Linked DNA regions of Homo sapiens: all the other regions are linked to region 3. Evidence: promoter capture Hi-C in 16 types of primary human blood cells and fetal thymus (Javierre and others, 2016). All regions are on one chromosome and are shown on one strand. The core of a region is centred on a gene start or on the middle of the fragment in contact, and the rest is flanking DNA. Distances in the headings are between cores, read along the strand shown. Region 1 overlaps KPNA5 (karyopherin subunit alpha 5). Region 2 holds the start of RSPH4A (radial spoke head component 4A). Region 3 holds the start of TSPYL4 (TSPY like 4). Region 4 overlaps KPNA5 (karyopherin subunit alpha 5). Region 5 holds the start of LOC124901386 (a long non-coding RNA gene). Region 6 has its middle 6.1 kb from the start of KPNA5. Region 7 overlaps ZUP1 (zinc finger containing ubiquitin peptidase 1).

Region 1 (2,700 bases), core at 93-2,592, 440 kb before region 3:
CAACTCCTGGTTTCTGTATAACTTGATCTATTGGTGGATTAGGTTCTAAAAATTTAAAAAGACTTCAGTTATTACAAAGACACAAAAAGAAAACAATCTAGTCCCTGTGTCCATTAACAGGGCACATAAAATAACTCTTTCCTAGGTTTCCCTGACCCAAGATTAAAACCCTTAGCTAGATGTAATTGAAGTCAAATTTTCTCCAGATTACAATGTTTTTTGTACATTTTGCAAATTCCGCTTTCTCATTCACTGCAAGAAATTTTAAAAATATTTCCTACATAAACATTTAAATTTCATAAATTGAAGGCTATTGAGCACACCTTTAAAACATTGATTATTTCTGTCTAAAACTCAAAATACCAACTGAGGAATTAAGTTTCCACTAATTCTTTATAGTACTACCCTCAATTTCTAAGCATATCTCCTTCATTATCAACCACAATTTACCTAATGTCTGTCAAACAAGATTCTTTTTTGTCCGTGAATTATTTTTTACAGAAATGTTAACGGACTGTCTACAATTACTGATAAATTTTCATGAAATGCAGACAGCTTTTGAGAATCATAAAATATCTAGGAAGCTTATATAAAATCCAGACAAAGACATTTCAGGTACTGGTCATCTAAGTATAAAGAACTCTTTCCTCTACCTTGGCTTCAGCAAAACGTACCCTCTACGGTTCTTCAGTAACTTCCCTATTGGTGTTCTTTTGGGATAGTCTTATTCCTGTTTATTCTCATCTTAGAAAATGTACCTATTTTTGTTAATGCAAGTACCAGATATTATTACTATTTGTGATAATTCACAGACCTTACAACCTTAACCGAATTCTCCTTTCCTAGATTTCAGACCATATTCCTAAGTGACTATAAGATGCATTTTTATTTTAACACCTTTTAAAATGTATTTTCACACTTCTTTCAAAATGCAGCATACCCAAAATCAAACTCATTATATCATCATGGTTATTCCTTCCCTTGCCCTGCATCCACCACCTAAATTGTATATTACTATGTTATCTATTCATGTAGTCATGAAAAAGAGCATACTCATTTCCACTTCTGATTCTTCCTTTTCTTCTTACTTCCTCTATTTGACTGTGTTACTGATCATAAAGAACTCATATATTAATGTTAACATACTGTGTTTGATGAGTAGGATGAATAAGCAAATGGTGGACATAAAACACCTGTACAAATCATTCTTTTTGATATAGAAAAATGTTTTCATTAAGTTTTAAGTCAGCTCAAATCCTAGAAACCTTGTTCTCAATTGTTAAGAAAGATTTACTTAGAAACAGACTTCCTTCTTCCTTTTCATTTTTCTACAAATTTGCTATTCTTCTAACTTGGACAAAATTTAGAAAATTTCTGCAGTTAGTAAAGTTATACCCATCAAGTTTTGTTTGGGTGTTCTAAATGAAAAGCCCCAATTCTTCAAGATGGAAAACTGAATTCCAGACCCTAACTTATACTGTTATAAAACATCAACAGGATAAAACAGTAAGTATTCTTAATCATTTTACCTTCCATCTTAAAAAAATCAAAACAAAATTATAGGGTTGCAATTATCACCTGCACTTTCTTGTTTTTCCTTTATTTCCAAAGCAAATCATAAATATATTATCCTATTTTGTTTTAAATTTAATGTACAGAAATTTTGTCTTGCTCTTTATGAAAGAGATGAGAGAGAAGGAAGAAAATATAGGGTTTTGTGGTTGGTAGGTAGGGCGAGGTGGTCATTGAGAATGTCAGCTATATATATTAAATATAGATATGATATGATATATACCCCCCCACACACACACATAAGAACCCAAATATAGTTTCTTCCCGGTGAATTAAAAGCAACACATTTATATTTATCTTCATCTAAAAGAAAGCAATTAAAGTGCACTTGGATTGTCAGCTTATCTAACAGGTATCATGAACTACTATTAGTATTATATTGACAGGATGATAGTCTACATAATCTTATAATGGTGATAAACTGCTACCGAGAAGACTTTTAGTCATTATGGCAATAAGTAGTATAGGGGGAATATCTCCTTCAGCACTGAAAACTAAGCAAGAGTCAGGCAAAAGAAAAAAGCTTTGGAGAACTTTCTACAAAACTGGGATTGAAGAAAAGGATGGTTTGTGATTTACATCCACAAGAGTGGCCACGAAAAGGAAATAAATAGAAGATGTAACAAAAGGTCACCGTCGCAGACTTAAGTCAGAGGAGTAAAAGCTGGAGCTAAGATAGGCTGTGCAGTACCCAGGGCATATTCATATCTTCCTAGTGTCTACAGTAAGAACACTAATTACAATAAAGAAATGCCTGCAAAAGAGGCAAAGTTTCCTGTTGTTTCTGCTTCCAGTTCTGGCCTCTAGATGCTTGCTTTCCCATATTTCCTACTTTGACAGATCAAATAAAAATACAGTAAATCTATTATTTTTCTAGGCCTGATAGATGTGGCAGGAACTCACATCAATCAGTGAAAGAAAACATCTATTAACTCCTTGCTGTATGTCCAACTGGGCAAGCATAATTCCATTACAAAGAAGAAACAGAGAACACAATTGTCTCTGTGAAAGATAGTACAGTTTAACGGAAACAGAATACCTTGAGGAATTAGAGTAAATGAGGACAAAGTCTTCTGATCAAAGAATTCGATACCCAGACAACTTGCTCAAAGATATCAGAAATATAGT
Region 2 (2,700 bases), core at 178-2,677, 360 kb before region 3:
GTAGACTATTGATCATCACATTTTAAGAGACTTGGATAAAATGGCATGTGTTCCAGGTAGCTTGTATAGTGACCAATTCTCCGAGTTTGCGAGGACTAAGGGGTTTCTTAGGATAAAGAACTTTCAGCGCTCAGCCAAACTGAGATGGTGGTCACCCTAGCACTGCCTGGGTTGGGAACTCAAAAGCCATGCAAGCAATAGCATCTACAGATGAGAGACGTGATTGCTTTCACTGGTAGACAATTATTTTTCACAAGCATCCTGGAGAGATGCTTGGACTTTATGGTCTTTATGGTCTTTTTCAAGCCCGAGATTCCATAATTCCTAAGTTTTATTTTGTTGTGTGCCTAGGGTCTTTAAAGAAGCTGGAGGAAAAGGACAAAAAAAAAAAAAGGTTAAGAAAAAGAAGGTACAAGAATCTCCATTAATGACCTGTTTTGAGTCATGTGATCCAGAGTTATGTCATTAACTCTCTTTTACTAACACAATCTTTCAAATATATTTTGATTCACCCACAGAAACACACTCTCACACAGAGATACTCACACACCCTCTTGCTTTGCCAAACATTTATCTTTTTTCCCTCTGAGACTTACAGATTAAAGCCCGAATTGCTGCTAGTCTTCAGCAGGTAAGCCTTAGCATTCTGAATGGTGATCTCAAGCATGCTGGGGGCCACTTCAGAGCCCCCAGGCGCCGGCTGCTGTAAATCATAGTCACTGTTTGAGTCTTCCTCCTGAAAAACGTCAAATCTCAGCTCTTTCTGTTTAGCGTTGTTATAGCTCACGTCCCTTCGTCCACACAGGTGGGGTTTGGGTTGCTGAGACTGTTGAAAGGTGTTTCCTTCTGACTGGCTTGTGTGATGAGGAGTTGATTCTCTTTTATCAGATGATTGTTCCAAAGGATCAGGATAAGGTGTCCCAGCTTCAGGAATCACACTCGTGGTCCTGTCCGACTGAGGTGGTGCCGCGAGGTCTTGTCTGGCCGGAGCCAGGGGAGAAGGAGAGGAAGAGGGCTCCCGCGGAGAGACAGGAGCAGGTGATGATGTTTCTGGTCCCGCGGGGCCACCCAGAGGCGTCTTGGCTCTAGACTGCGGGCTCCAAGGACGGCTGCTTCGGGACTGGCGTCCAGTTTCTGGCCCCTGCTTCGCCTCCAAGGGCTCAGACGACTCAGGCTCAGAATATTGGGGAGAAGCTGCTGTCTTTCCTTCCCATGGCCGCCTTGTTTCCCCTAGTTCTTCTTGGTTTTCTTTTTCTTGCTTCGGGGAGGTTGAGTCCTCCATGGAAGCAGTTCAAGAAAAAAAATGTTCTGGATGAAAGGGGCGTGAAAATATGGAAGAAGGCAACTCAGTTAAGTTACTTTGCCGCGGTCTCTTAAGCGATTTCTGGGTCCTGGTTGCTCTGTGAGTTGCTGCGTCCTATCTCCATAGCAACCCCAGGCCGGGTTCCTCTCAGAAAAACTCACCGCGCCTGTTGCCAGGATTCGAGGGCGGAGACTAAGAGAGAACGAGAGAGAGAGATGAAAATCCTAGCTTTGTGATTCGGTACAACCCCTGCCCCTCGTTCTATCGCAGCCAATCCGACCTAGACTCGACCAGTCTTGCTTGGAAACCGAGAACTCCAGATCCTGCGCCTTGAGCACAAAGTAGGAAGAATGGCGACCCCATGCGAGAGACCTTTAGGGGTCTGAGACTGATCCAAGTTGTGCTGTGAGGAGCGAGTCGTGCGTTAGTGGAGGGACAGTGTATTCATGAAGCGTGTGTGTGGAGGGTGTGTGTGTGTGAGAGAGAGAGAGAAGGAAGGAAGGAAAGAACGGAGGAAGGAAGGGAGGGAGGGAGAGAGGAGAGTGAGGGGTAGAGAGGGAGGAAGAGACTGACCTTGGTAATCTCGGAGGTGCAGGTAACAATGGGACCCCAGTGTGCTGACCAGGAGACCCCAAGCCTCACATTTAGCGTGCATCAGCTACAACCAACCAACTCTAAAGACTCGGAGAATAGACAAAGCAGTCCTGAGTTTTGTTCTTCCTGCTTATAAGGAATCTCCTGGTGATTAGGCAGAATATTATACTTGAGAAGGCAATGCAGAAAACCTATAAATAGGCAATTCATGGGTTACCCGTTTTCTAATAATTGAAATTCAAATTAACACTAAACTATATTGGCATAATATAATTTTTATTTGATAATGTAAATGTAAATGCATAATTTTGCAATGATTTAAGTTCAAGATTATGACTATTCATTTATAGTATACAGTCTCCAATATGAAGAAGGTATAGAAGATTGGACCATATCTGGACTTAACTATAAACCATATATTAATTAAAGTCTTTAATGTTAATTGTTTTGTATTTCTTTCTCTTTCTAAATATACCAACAAATACTTGGCATTTGACAGTTTACATTGATATAGCTTCTATTTAGCAAGATGTTGCTCTAAATTCTAACTTCATGGAAGAACATAATACTCCTCCATTCAGTGTGGTGAGGGAATCACAGACTAAAATAATTTGATAAAAACTGTGTGCACACACACAAAATGTTGAATATAACTTCTGCTGGTACAGAGACTCTTTAAAGTCAAATGTCTGGGATTTAGAATGCTTGGATTTCTAAAAACAGAACATTAAGATAAACTAGAACAATAAATTCTGGGGTTTTTTGGTAATTGGTGCAAGAGTTGAGGAAGTTAGCATTTTTTC
Region 3 (2,700 bases), core at 42-2,541:
TAGTTGAACCAGAACTACACTCCTTCCCTCGCTAGAAGTCTCAGTATATATGATGTATTCCTCTAAGAGGAATCCTTTTTCTCTAAATCTGTACTTCTGAGCCTGTATTTGAAAGTGATCATAATCTGGGGGGCTTAAAATGGAGTTTCTTTTACAAAGAGTTATAATCATAACCGTTTATTTGAATATAAATTTGACATTAAACATAAATATGCAAAATTTAAATTTCCCTTTGGTCTTGCATTTTTCTAAGGATTAACACCATTATTCTCACACTCCAACAAACTAATATATTGTACTGATAATCACTATCAAATGAATTGTAAGAGCTAACTGACTCGAATAGACAATAACTAACCTTACTTTTAAAGTATTTTAAGAGACAGTAGCATAGATGCCTGCACATAGCTGATTATTGCTCCTGTGCTGCAGTGAATTACCACATGAACACATTTTGAAAAGATTTGTTAGCTTCATGTCCACAGGCATTATGAAGCAGGAACCACTTTTAGATTAAGATTGTAACCTGAGGAAAAGAACATATGCATCAGTTTAGAAATTAAAATCCCCTGAGATATTTCTTTCAGTAATGCTTAAAAGCCTAAATTTGTGCTCGTGTGCCAGTCACCTCTACGTAAGGAAAAACATTTTGCTACTCTTTGTTAAAAGTGAAGAGGAAATATTGTCCACTTGTTTTGTAGATGTTGGCCAAATTATATAAACTTTAAAATCTGTAAGACAAATTGAAATATTCCTTTATTATGTCTTGTTAGGATGAGAGAAGTTTGCCTTTCAGCTGCTCCTTAATTTTAAAAATAACAACACAGCAACACTTCTCTTTAAAATCAAACTCTGCTCATTTAAATTCTTTGGTAATAGCCATGAATCCACACCTTAAAAGAAGGAAGGCCTGTGAGTTCGTGAATCCACTTTCCTACTCAGGAGAAGCCCTATGAACTGACTTGAATAGACAGTAACTCACCTTAAAGTAAATATTTTCAGAAACAATAGGTTAGGTGCCTTAGAAATTCATTCAGAGGCTTAGAAATCCACATTAACACAGTTCTTACATGCTTGAGTCTGGTCTACATCCATTTACGTAAGTAAAACTCCCCTTCCAGACTGACGAAATTCTTTTTGTGACAAGAAGACAAAGGAATACGATGGATTGATAAGCGTAGTCAACCGCGCAGAGAGTTCTCGCGCGATGTTACGACGCTACCGCCCTGACATCACCAGTTGCCATGGTAGCACCGCCGAGAGTAAAGGAGGGGTGGTGCTAGACGTTTCGGGCAGAGCTCGGCCGCTGCGGAGGACAAGGAACTCTCCCTCTCCCACTAGTCTGACTTCTTCCAAAATGAGCGGCCTGGATGGGGGCAACAAGCTCCCTCTCGCCCAAACCGGCGGCCTGGCTGCTCCCGACCATGCCTCAGGAGATCCGGACCGAGACCAGTGCCAAGGGCTCCGTGAAGAAACCGAGGCGACACAGGTGATGGCGAACACAGGTGGGGGCAGCCTGGAGACCGTTGCGGAGGGGGGTGCATCCCAGGATCCTGTCGACTGTGGCCCCGCGCTCCGCGTCCCAGTTGCCGGGAGTCGCGGCGGTGCAGCGACCAAAGCCGGGCAGGAGGATGCTCCACCTTCTACGAAAGGTCTGGAAGCAGCCTCTGCCGCCGAGGCTGCTGACAGCAGCCAGAAAAATGGCTGTCAGCTTGGAGAGCCCCGTGGCCCTGCTGGGCAGAAGGCTCTAGAAGCCTGTGGCGCAGGGGGCTTGGGGTCTCAGATGATACCGGGGAAGAAGGCCAAGGAAGTGACGACTAAAAAACGCGCCATCTCGGCAGCAGTGGAAAAGGAGGGAGAAGCAGGGGCGGCGATGGAGGAAAAGAAGGTAGTGCAGAAGGAAAAAAAGGTGGCAGGAGGGGTGAAAGAGGAGACACGGCCCAGGGCCCCGAAGATCAATAACTGCATGGACTCACTGGAGGCCATCGATCAAGAGTTGTCAAACGTAAATGCCCAGGCTGACAGGGCCTTCCTTCAGCTTGAGCGCAAGTTTGGCCGCATGCGAAGGCTCCACATGCAGCGCAGAAGTTTCATTATCCAGAATATCCCAGGTTTCTGGGTTACTGCCTTTCGAAACCACCCCCAGCTGTCACCTATGATCAGTGGCCAAGATGAAGACATGCTGAGGTACATGATCAATTTGGAGGTGGAGGAGCTTAAACACCCCAGAGCAGGCTGCAAATTCAAGTTCATCTTTCAGGGCAACCCCTACTTCCGAAATGAGGGGCTTGTCAAGGAATATGAACGCAGATCCTCTGGCCGGGTGGTGTCTCTTTCCACTCCAATCCGCTGGCACCGAGGCCAAGACCCCCAGGCTCATATCCACAGAAACCGGGAAGGGAACACTATCCCTAGTTTCTTCAACTGGTTTTCAGACCACAGCCTTCTAGAATTCGACAGAATTGCAGAGATTATCAAAGGAGAACTGTGGCCCAATCCCCTACAATACTACCTGATGGGTGAAGGGCCCCGTAGAGGAATTCGAGGCCCACCAAGGCAGCCAGTGGAGAGCGCCAGATCCTTCAGGTTCCAGTCTGGCTAATCTCTGTCCTGTGAGAAGCTTCTGCACAAGTTTCCTTACCACCTCCTCTTGGACCTATGCTTGGCCAACAGCATGCAGTCTTCCATCTGCTTTCTCTT
Region 4 (2,700 bases), core at 26-2,525, 470 kb before region 3:
GAATAGATATAACCACAAAAATTAATTGAAAAAATACAACTATTTGCAGGTGAACAAACTTGCAGCCCAAATAAAATAAAAGTAACATCAACATTAAAAAAATACAAAATAGAACAAAGGAAGGGTCTTCATTTATTACTGCTTGTATCCATGACACAAAGTGGAAATACTGATGAAAGCAAAGAGATAGAATAGAAAATAAAAGGCAGAGACAGATGCTAGCAATATACAGCTATACAAATTTGAGAGAGCAAGATAATACTACAAATGAAGGCAATAAAAGACGACAATTTCACAATAGGTAGATTTCAAAATTATGTGATTTATAAAATAGCACTGTAGTTTGACTTGTTTTATAAATTGAAAAATAAATCAAATATGCATTAGAAAATATTTTCTAAGAAGTCTAGTTTCATGGAGGGATCCTCCGAACAAGACGATTCTGTAGAAGCTTTTAGTAGAGGTGTAAGTGAAACTTTGCTATGGGAGATAAAAAAGAGTGAAAGTACATGATAAAAGATTCAGGAATCAATACTGATAATAAAAATTATGATGATTACAAATAATAACAGTAGCTATTCTTAATTATCTATTAGTTATTAATAATATGTTTAGGCACTGTGCTGACACTTCAAAGACATAAATTTCACTTAACTATCAAGATACAGTCCCTCGGTTTCATCGGAGATTGGTTCCAAGACACCCTTCCTCTCAATACCAAAATCCACAGATGCTCAATTCCTTTATATAAAATGGCATAGTATTTGCATACAACCTATGCATATCTTTCCAAGTATTTGAAATTATCTTTAGATTACTTATAATACCTAAAACAATGTAATTGCTATGATGTTACTAATTGTTGTATTGTGTTTTTAAATTTGCATTATTTTGTAGTGTTGTACTGGCATTTTTTACTGTCTTTTTCTTTTTTAATATTTTTGACCTGCAGGTGGTTGAATCCACAGATGCAAAACCCAAGGATATGGAAGGCTGACTTACACTGCCATAACTATTCATTACTGGAACTCATTTTTTAAAATGAAGAAACTAGATTAGAGGGGTTAAATGACTTTGTCAAGACCACACAACTTTTACTGAAGGAGCAGGATTTGAAATCAGGCTGACTTAAAAGCCCATGCACCTATTATTTACATTGTCAGCAGAATAAATAAATTTAAAAAGCCTAGACTCAAAAAGCTAATATAAAAAAAAGGTAACTAGTATAGAAAAATAAAAGATACTATCCATAGGCAAGGCTAACAATCAATGAGGACCAGAACATCACCATATAAACAATGTCTATTTCAATTTTATTTAAAGTAAGTGGATATTCAAATTTATTAGCCATTTCTATATAATAAAGCTATATTTTTGTGATTAAAAAATATTTAATGCCCATGACAGTGTACTCTGCAAATTAACATAGACCGTTCCCGTTTGGATTTTTTAATCTCTGATTTTTCTTAAGCAGCCTATCAAGGAGAATGATGTTAATTACACGTTAAATGGGGAAAAAAAAATTGTGAATGAGTAACTGATATAATACATGCTGTCATTTCATATTATCAAACTGACTTAGAAATAATATTTTAGTTCCATCAGTAAATTAAAATATGTTTTATTTCAACTTTTGTCTCATTTACATGTAAAAAACAATTAAGAAGTTTATATCATACCTTATTTGCTCTGGAGTACCTCCTGATGTTGCATTAGTTATAGCCCAAGCTGCTTCTTTTCTGGTACGAAACTCTGCTTTCTGAAGAATCTCAATCAAAACAGGAAAAATATTTGCATCTATAACAGCCTGAGAGGGGGAAAAATATATAATCAGTACAAATACTGTTTCTAAAATATTACCAGTAAAAAAAATCTTGAAACTCAATGGCTTCAAAATGTCAAGGTTTTTGGAACCTTGACATTAAAATAAATTTTTAATTTCTATTCTGTCAGCAAACTTTTCAAATATTTTTCTTTTTACATAGGAAATTAGCTTTTTAAAGACTGGAGAATAGCAAAATATAAATTTTAGAGATGATAAAGCACAAGCCATGTGACTGATCAAAATGGATAAGTAATCACTGACACAAGAAGCTTGATAGAACCCTAATAAATCATTAAAAGCTTTGAGAGGAAGATTATTGCATAACTTATTTAAAACTAATGCAAAAAAATATCTTTCTAAAGACAAACCATTATGTGTCAGGCACTGTGCTAGACACACACACACACACACACACTTGATGTTCTTCACTAGAATACTACAAGTAAATGTTATTATTTTAGAGGAGGAAAGCCCATGTTCTTTAAAATACTTTTTCGGTATCTTTTTAAAAAGGAATCTTTTTTAGTAAAAGTGTTAACTTTTGTCCAAACTGGCTTCTTAGACCTTGCTGTTCTACTCTCAGATCTGAAGGGTAGTTACCTGAATCTGAGCTCTATTTCCAGCAGTGATGTTAGAAACAGTCCAGCAGGCTTCTTTTCTAATTGACTCCTTTGGGCTACTCAATAAATGTAAGAGACAGGGTAATGCAGAACAATTCAAAATTACCTAAAACAAGTTAGAAATGGAAACAAAAAGTTTTATAGTAAATAACCTATATGAAAATCTACTAATGAATTATTTAGATGTACAAAACCCATTCTAGAAAGTGAAATTAAGAAAGGAGAAATTCCTCCCAAAGTAAAACTTGCTGTCTT
Region 5 (2,700 bases), core at 84-2,583, 380 kb before region 3:
ATATGCATTGGGTCCTTACTTTTGTTAGGTACTCTTAGTATGTTACATATATTACTTAGTTTAATCTTCAGAATAGTTCTGTGAGACAAGTACTATTATTAGGCCCATGAAGAAGCAAGCTAAAGCCCTGAGAGGTTAGTAATTTGCCCAAGAAAAATCTTGATCCAGGGTATGAACCTAGGCTATCTCACTTCCAACCAAACTCTTACCATTAAACTATTTGGCTGTCTTCCGTTAGAGAACATATATAGTAAAATTTCTTCCTCACTGCTTAGAAATAATATTTAACAGGCATAGTTCTATAAAGAAGGATTTGCATTGATTAAGTGTTTATACTAACTATACAACTGTGATTTAGAGTCTTGTGTTTAATGTGTTCTGTAGAAAAGAAACTTTCCACTTCTTGTTGGACATGCCACATGTGGTTGCAACCAAGAATCCTGGCCAATGTAATTCATCAAAAAACTACCAGAAGCTCACAGTCCATGGGTAGAACTTAGCTGGAACCAAGCCAACTGTGGAAACTAGAATATGGTCTAATTTGTAGAAGGAACAATCTGGTTAGGAGCCCATAATTTAGATCCCAGAGAGGCTACATCTGATTGGCATGAGACTATTTAATGGGACAGAGGCAGTTCCTCAAAAGGAAATCAGGGTAGGTAATGAAATGGATATTAAGCAACACTAAAGAACATGTCTACTATGTCATGAAAAAATGAATAACAACCAACATGAATGAAGTTTTGTGAATTTTAGGTATGCCAACAAAGAATGAAAGTTGCACTTCAAGAATGAAATAGTATTGCCAATTTAATTCTGGAAACCATCTTTCCTAATGTTCTGTCCTTCAGACTGGTAACCAGTTTTCTTTTTTTTTTTTTTTGAAACATGGTCTTGCTCTGTCACGCAGGCTGGAGTGCAGTGGCACGATCATAGCTCACTTGACCTCCTGGGCTCAAGCGATCCTCCCACCTCAGCCACCAGGTGCAGTTTTCTACTTTATATCCCCTTGCAGTTATCCTGGGTTTTTTGTTTTTTTGTTTATTTGTTTTTGTTTTTGAGACGGAGTCTCATTTTGTTGCCCAGGCTGGAGTGCCAATGGCGCAATCTTGGCTCACTGCAGCCTCTACCTCCCAGGTTCAAGCAGTCCTCCTGCATCAGCCTCACGAGTAGCTGGGATTACAGGCATGCGCCATGACACTCGACTAATGTTTGTATTTTTAGTAGAGACGAGGTTTCGCCACGTTGGCCAGGCTAGTCTCGAACTCCTGACCTCAGGTGATCCACCCGCCTTGGCCTCCCAAAGTGCTGGGATTACAGGTGTGAGCCACTGTGTTACCTAGATAATGTGATAACCTCCTAACTGGTCTCCTTGTCTCAAATCTGGATTCTCTCTCATCCATCTACACTGTAGCCAAAATGTTCTCAAATACAAATATTTGTGTGACTTTCTAGTGTAATCCTCTTCACTGTTCATGGGTAAAATCCAGACTTCCACACACTCTAGCCCCTCTTTGCCTCTGCAGGCTCATCTCTCACCACTTCTTGCGGTTGAAATTTCATTCCTTTCAGCCAAAAGTCCTTTGCCAGGATGCAGCTGATGCCACCAAGAACCTTCTCCCATAGCACTCCACCTGGTGGCTCTTAGAAGTGCTTCCTGACTTGCTGAAATCTGAATTCAGTGCACCTTGTGTTTGACAACAGTGTTACTCCGGGTGCAGATCTGTGATCTGCAAACTGAAGGTCTGTGGCAAGGTAAGTACAGACATTGAGAACTGCTGTGTCATTTTATTTTTAAAAAACAACAGTAATGGATTGGAATTATTTTTTAACTTAGCAAAATTCCTTTACTGTAGAATTTGAGAAGCACTGTTCTGTGTTACCTGTAATATTTGTATCACAATACTTGCTAAATTGCGATTGATTTTACATTTCTATTTACCTTTTTATAGTTCTCTCTTCAATGAAAGCTCTATGATTTCAAGAGTAGTGCCTAGTTTTTAGTCATAGCCACAGGTATATCTGGTACATACAGGACTTAAAAATGCTTTTTTAGTGAGGGAAGATAATGTTTTAGAGAAGTAGTGCTAGAAAATATAAGTCAAGTCTCTGGCTATCTCCAGCTAACCATATCTGTGCAAAGCAAATCATTTTTCCCTAATCAGTTCAAATCAATTTCTGTAGGATGAAAGAGGAGTCTGAGAAGACTTTTTGAGAAGTAACAAAAGAGTTAAAAATTTACCAGCCTGGCTAACATAGTGAAACCCCGTCTCTACTAAAAATACAAAAAAAGCCAGGTGTAGTGGCGTGCACCTGTAGTCCCAGCTACTCAGGAGGCTGAGGCAGGAGAAACACTTGAACCCGGGAGGCAGAGGTGGCAGTGAGCCGAGATCACACTACTGCACTCTAGCCTGGTGACAGAGACTCCGTCTCAAAAAAAAAAAAAAAGAAAAAAAAAAATTGAGTGTTCCTACAGTTTTAAGCAGGTGACAGAATTATGATACTATCTCAAGCAGGAAAAATGAATATATATGCTATAAAGTGTTTGCACACAATATCACAGTCCACACCATAGGTAATTACAAAGGTTTAAGAATACATGCTGAGATCAGTTCTTACAAAGGTTAAGAATACATTACTCTAGTGACTATCAATATTTTTTGTCTTCATACCCCTTGACACTCTTTAAAAAGTATTGAT
Region 6 (2,700 bases), core at 34-2,533, 420 kb before region 3:
AGTGCAGAAGCTGGGATGGCCCTTCAGAATTGTCACTGTTGAGGCTAGAGGCTCATGTTTCTATCACTGAATCAAGAAGTCTTTGGATATCACTGAATCAAATCCAGAGAGGAGGGTTAATCTTGGGTGAGGCAGCAGCTCCCTTTGACCAGAGTGCAGTTTCTGAAGTGGAACTTGGCCTAGAGCCCTCATCATTGGGGGAAGAAAATCCTTTAGTCCTGAACCAGAACTTGGGCAGTGTACCAAAGGTTCTACCACACATACTTTTTCAGTTTTCCAAAGATAAAGAAATGAATGGCCTTCTTTCAGCTTCATGCCTCTTCTTTCTCATCCTCCTTATTTAGTCTTCCTCCTTTAAGCAACCTATAAATGTTGGCGCCAGGCCTCTTACTTTGCTGCATTGCCTCTCTAGGTGATACAACATACTCCTGTATTTTTAAAAGCCATCTACCTATAAACCACTTTCTCCCAAATTCAAATTTCCATCCCTGACCTCTTCCTGGAGGTCTAAACTCATATATCAAACCTCCATTTGGATGTCTGATGGGCATCTCAAATTTAATAAGCCAAAACAGATTTTTTTATTCTATCCCATTCCACTTTATTTCTTTCTCAGGCCTCTTTATCTCTGTAATGATACAACTACGCAGCCAGAAACTCCAGTTAAAAAACTTATGAATCATTCTTTACCTTGCCCTTACCAGTGCCTCCTGTCTTTCGCTTCTAGCTCCAAAATAGTCCACATCTACACCTAGTCCATCTCTACTGACACTTCTTCTAGCATTCCATCATTTATTTCATAAACTGCAGTAGTATCCTAATTAAGCAATCTGTATCTACCTTGACTCCTTTATAATCTATTCCCTGTCCAGAAGGTGTAGTAATTTACAATTAAATTTTTATTTATTGTAATCAAATAATACAAATATATCATTTAAAGGGTCCAATAATAAGTTTATCGTGAAAATTAACACTTCCCACCTGACCATCCCCAGATGCCGCTCCCCAGAAGCTACTATTTTCAACTTGTTTAGGTATTCTTATTGGTATCTCTTTTCTAATTAAATATTTTAAAATCATACACTGCTATTTCTTAATTTGTAAAGTCATAGACATTTTCTATTGTTATAGATGTAAAATGAGAATTTATTACTCATAACTGCACTAACCTCCCAACATACACATTTACACATACTTCCTGATCGCACATCCTCCAATATAGTTCTATCAAAATTATTTTGGTTAAATCAATATTTAAATTTTTATGTAAAAATTACATTCCTTGTATAGTTTTTTATTGTTCTAAAATTAATTGCCTGTTTTCTGTCATTATCATTTGCTTAATTTTCTAACTACTCATCACTAACTCATCTTCAAACACACTGCTGGAGATCTGTATTAGTTTCCTGTTGCTGCTCTAACCAATTACCACAAACTTGCTGACTTAAAATAACATAAATGTATTATCTTACACTTTTAGAGGTCAGAAGTCCAAAATGGGTCTCACTGGGCTAAAATCAAGGTGTCAGCAAAGTTGTGTTTCTTCTGGAGCCTATAGGGGAGAATCCATTTCCTTGCCTTTTCCAGTTCCTTGAAGCTACCTACATTCCTTGGCTTCTGGACCCCTTTCAGCAATTACATCTCTCTGACCTCTGTTTCTGTTATCGCATCTCCTTTTCTAAGACTGACCTTCCTATCTGTCTCCCTCTCATGAGGACCCTTGTGATTACATTGTGCCTACCTAGATAAACCCCTCTTGTCAAGATCCTTAATCACATCTACAAATTCCTTTTGCCATGAAAAGTAAGATATTCACAGGTTCTGTTAATAAGGAAATAGAATCTTTTAAAAAAATTTAATATTAGAGACGGGGGGGGCGGGTCTCACTATGTTGGCCAGGCTAGTCACCAACTCCTAGCCTTAAACAATCCTCCCACCTTGGCCTTTCAAAGTGCTGGGATTACACGTGTGAGCCACCATGCCTGGCCAGGACATAAACATCTTTGAGGGACACTATTCTGCTTAACAGAATATATTTCTCTCAGTATGGTCATAAACATGAAGTGATCTGTCAGTTGCCTCTTTCCTCCCTCCCTCCCTTTCTTTTTCTTCCTTTCTGCCTTCATTCCTGTCTGTTCTCTCTCATCTTGGTAGAGTTTTTTATGGAATTCCATACGTTCTACTTTCTTTTTTTCTTTTCTTTTCTTTTCTTTTCTTTTTTTTTTTTTTTTTTTTTTGAGATGGGGTCTCAATCTGTCACCCAGGCTAGAGTGCAGTGGTGTGATCTCGGATCACTGCAACCTCTGCCTTCTGGGCTCAAATGATCCTCCAACCTCAGCCTCCTCAGTAACTAGGACCACAGGCACACGTCACCACGTCCGGATAATTTTTTGTATTTTTGGTAGTGACGGGGTTTCACCATATTGCCCAGGCTGGTCTCAAACTCCTAAGCTCAAGCAATCCGCCTGCCTCGGCCTCCCAAAGTGCTAGGATTACAGGTGTGAGCCACCATGCCCGGCCCCATACCTTCCACTTTCTTTGCTTCTTCCCTCATTTTGGTGGGAGCTTCCTGGGAAATAATAAGAAATAATGTTTCAGGAGAAATTATTATTAAGTCATGAATTATCATGTCATTTCATTGATAACTAATTTTCCATTGTTTTTGTTGTTATTCCTCTCTGTATCTCTTATTAGTTGGAT
Region 7 (2,700 bases), core at 5-2,504, 400 kb before region 3:
GTTGGACTAAACTGGTAGCATCTGTTATATTTTTAATGCATTTAAAATTTTAATGTCTGTTTTTCCTTTTTTCAGTCCTAATTTGTAGACTGTAGTGTTATCTGTGCTAATAATGCTCATAGATTCATAGATTTTGTTGTTGTTGTTTGTTTGTTTGTTTGAGACGGAGTTTCACTCTTGTCGCCCAGGCTGGAATGCAATGGTGCAATCTTGGTTCACTGCAACCTCCGCCTTCTAGGGTCAAGTGATTCTCCTGCCTCAGCCTCCCAAGTAGCTGGGATTACAGGTGTGCACCACCATGCCTGGCTCATTTTTTTGTATTATTAGTAGAGACAGGGTTTCACCGTGTTGGCCAAACTGGTCTTGAACTCCTAAACTCAGGTGATCCACCTGCCTTGGCCTCCCAAAGTGCTGGGATTATAGGCATGAGCCACCGTGCCTGGCCTATTGCTTATAGTTTTTAAATGTTCTTTTTTTAGTGATGATAGGATAGTGCATACATAAAAAGGGTTTACAGTTGAATAGGTTTGAAAGTGTTCAGTTAAACAGGTTTGTATACTTTGGGACTTCTCAAAGCCTTTAATATACTAATGTGCATGTACATATCACAATTTCCCCAGACTTGTTTGACCTCTCTTTTTTTCTCAGACATCTCACATGAGTATTGTTGCTTAGAATGTGCTTTGGAAGACCTAATGTAGGATTTTTTTCTCACTGGTGACTCACAATACTTGCAAAATAGGAAAGAAAATTGGCTTTTCTTAAGACTTTTATGCCTTATGTAATTTAAAACATGATCAATACAAAAAGTTTCCAATATTTAAGGAGGTTATGTAATTTTGCAAGTTAGTTGTTTAGATCTCAGAAAATTTTTCTGTAGAAAAGTTTCCGTGAAAACTTTTCCATAGACAATTTTTCCATAGTTTTATACATACTATTTGAGATTTCTGTCCAGTGTACAAAACATAGTTCATTTACTGTGTAACATGACTGACTAAATGAATTATGGATTAAGTAGGCCTTTATGGACTAGACTGGGAACCAAATAACAAGGACTGACAAGTTTCCTTGAAAAAATCAGCAATGCATTCAGAACTCTTCTGCATCTCCCAATACCTGAGGTAGAAAGACAGGATCCTCTGCTTTCCCTACTACAGGAAAAGCAAGTCTCTTGCCCTGGAGATTGATTATAAAGAAGTGGTTGCTTATTAAGTCAATAATTTTTTTTTGTGTGTGTGTGTGTGTGTGTTATTAGTTTTTGTAAAAATCTTTAAGTTAACTTGTATAAAGTCTATAAACCAGAATGTTTCAACATGTTTCCAAATAAAATTTTAATAAGTTTCCATCCTCATAGAGTTACAGGGATGTAAAAATTAAGTCATTTATTTTTATGTTCAATAGAGACAATATGGTTTAGATAATTCTGGAGGATACAAACAACAACAACTACGAAATATGGAGATAGAAGTAAATAGGGGAAGAATGCCTCCATCTGAATTTCATAGGAGAAAAGCTGATATGATGGAATCATTAGCTCTTGGTTTTGACGATGGAAAAACAAAAACTTCCGGTGAGTATTTAAACATCAGAGTCATTGTTTTAATATTGCTTATACCACTGAAGTAATAATCAGAATCATTTTAATTTTGCTTAATTTTCATAATCTGTGCACAAATATTTTTTTAAAAATGTATTGTTTTAAAACTTCTGAATTATTTTTATGATAAATAATTCACTTAAAAATTTACTTTTATATTATGTTACTTGACATTTAAAAAGCTATGCTCTAGAGAGTGCTAAGAGAAATATAATGTGAGCCACATATATAATTTTAAATTTCCTGGCTCCACATTAACAAAAGTGAAAAGGAGGCTGGGCGCGGTGGCTCATGCCTGTAATCCCAGCACTTTGGGAGGCTGAGACAGGCGGATCACCTGAGGTCGGGAGTTCGAGACTAGCCTAACCAACATGGAGAAATCCCATCTCTACTAAAAAAAAATTACAAAATTAGCTGGGCGTGGTGGCACATGCCTGTAATCCCAGCTACTAGGGAGGCTGAGGCAGGAGAATCGCTTGAACCCGGGAGGCGGAGGTTGCGGTGAGCCGAGATTGCGCCATTGCACTCCAGCCTGGGCAACAAGAGCGAAACTCCATCTCAAAAAAAACAAAAAAAAAACAAAAAAAAGTGAAAAGGAACAGGGGAAGTTAATTTAAATAGTTTAAACCAGTGTATCCATGATATTATTATTTCAACATGTAATCAACATTAAAACTATTACTGAGACATTTTACATTGTTTATACATTCTTCAAAATCCATTGTGTATTTTCTACTTCACAGCACAACTCAATTGGGCAGCCACATTTCAAATTCTCGATAGCCACAAATGGCTATTGGCTATTTTATTGTTTGTACATTTTTAGACACTAACAACTCTATATACATTGTATCATTTAACTCAAAACATCCTCTCCTGTACTGTTATATATTCCAAATGAGGTCACTGTTGCTTAGAGAAGTTACAGTGACTTTGCCAAAGCAAGGTTACACAGCTGGTTATTCCTAATCAAATCTTCCTTGCCCCATAATATGGCTTTTTTCTGATGAGTATTAAAATTTTTTTCTTTGTATATATTAGTATATTAACAGACTTTTTATGGAAACAACTTTGTTACTGTCACCCAGATTTTTTGAATCTTA

The links. Contacts are between HindIII fragments. The CHiCAGO score rates a contact against its expected background, and 5 or more counts as called.
Region 1: a contact is called between a fragment that was not itself captured here and the fragment with the promoter of TSPYL4 in region 3, in 6 of 17 cell types (monocytes, M1 macrophages, naive CD8 T cells and 3 more). The highest score is 7.5, in monocytes.
Region 2: the fragment with the promoter of RSPH4A here is called in contact with the fragment with the promoter of TSPYL4 in region 3 in 4 of 17 cell types (fetal thymus, naive B cells, monocytes and 1 more); the score reaches 9.4 in fetal thymus.
Region 4: a fragment that was not itself captured here is called in contact with the fragment with the promoter of TSPYL4 in region 3 in 1 of 17 cell types (M2 macrophages); the score reaches 5.1 in M2 macrophages.
Region 5: a contact is called between a fragment that was not itself captured here and the fragment with the promoter of TSPYL4 in region 3, in 5 of 17 cell types (total B cells, fetal thymus, M2 macrophages and 2 more). The highest score is 7.3, in total B cells.
Region 6: a fragment that was not itself captured here is called in contact with the fragment with the promoter of TSPYL4 in region 3 in 9 of 17 cell types (naive B cells, fetal thymus, total CD4 T cells and 6 more); the score reaches 12.9 in naive B cells.
Region 7: a contact is called between a fragment that was not itself captured here and the fragment with the promoter of TSPYL4 in region 3, in 10 of 17 cell types (naive B cells, M0 macrophages, fetal thymus and 7 more). The highest score is 14.4, in naive B cells.

The regions. Positions count from the first base shown.
Region 1 is chr6:116,696,049-116,698,748 of GRCh38, reverse strand. It overlaps KPNA5 (karyopherin subunit alpha 5), which reads right to left. Exons shown (of 14, transcript NM_001366306.2): 5 at 1-45. Among named protein-coding and RNA genes, the nearest start is that of KPNA5, 16 kb to the right of the region's middle. The HindIII fragment of the contact is 1,511 bases long and covers 587-2,097 here.
Region 2 is chr6:116,615,206-116,617,905 of GRCh38, reverse strand. It overlaps RSPH4A (radial spoke head component 4A), which reads right to left and starts at 1,427. Exons shown (of 6, transcript NM_001010892.3): 1 at 597-1,427. The coding sequence starts at 1,282. RefSeq lists enhancers at 1,108-1,227, 1,278-1,377. The HindIII fragment of the contact is 5,584 bases long and covers 1-2,700 here.
Region 3 is chr6:116,252,666-116,255,365 of GRCh38, reverse strand. It overlaps TSPYL4 (TSPY like 4), which reads left to right and starts at 1,291. Exons shown (of 1, transcript NM_021648.5): 1 at 1,291-2,700. The coding sequence starts at 1,358. The coding sequence ends at 2,602. It also overlaps a transcript of DSE not described here. RefSeq lists enhancers at 920-1,149, 1,560-1,719. The HindIII fragment of the contact is 9,221 bases long and covers 1-2,622 here.
Region 4 is chr6:116,725,602-116,728,301 of GRCh38, reverse strand. It overlaps KPNA5 (karyopherin subunit alpha 5), which reads right to left. Exons shown (of 14, transcript NM_001366306.2): 11 at 2,426-2,551; 12 at 1,680-1,807. Among named protein-coding and RNA genes, the nearest start is that of FAM162B, 39 kb to the left of the region's middle. The HindIII fragment of the contact is 1,643 bases long and covers 454-2,096 here.
Region 5 is chr6:116,632,860-116,635,559 of GRCh38, reverse strand. RSPH4A (radial spoke head component 4A) reads right to left here. Exons shown (of 6, transcript NM_001010892.3): 6 at 2,575-2,700. LOC124901386 (a long non-coding RNA gene) reads left to right here and starts at 1,297. Exons shown (of 2, transcript XR_007059721.1): 1 at 1,297-1,755. The HindIII fragment of the contact is 3,276 bases long and covers 1-2,700 here.
Region 6 is chr6:116,673,717-116,676,416 of GRCh38, reverse strand. No RefSeq gene overlaps it. Among named protein-coding and RNA genes, the nearest start is that of KPNA5, 6.1 kb to the left of the region's middle. The HindIII fragment of the contact is 7,093 bases long and covers 1-2,700 here.
Region 7 is chr6:116,655,554-116,658,253 of GRCh38, reverse strand. It overlaps ZUP1 (zinc finger containing ubiquitin peptidase 1), which reads left to right. Exons shown (of 10, transcript NM_145062.3): 5 at 1,402-1,570. Among named protein-coding and RNA genes, the nearest start is that of ZUP1, 12 kb to the left of the region's middle. The HindIII fragment of the contact is 2,964 bases long and covers 1-2,700 here.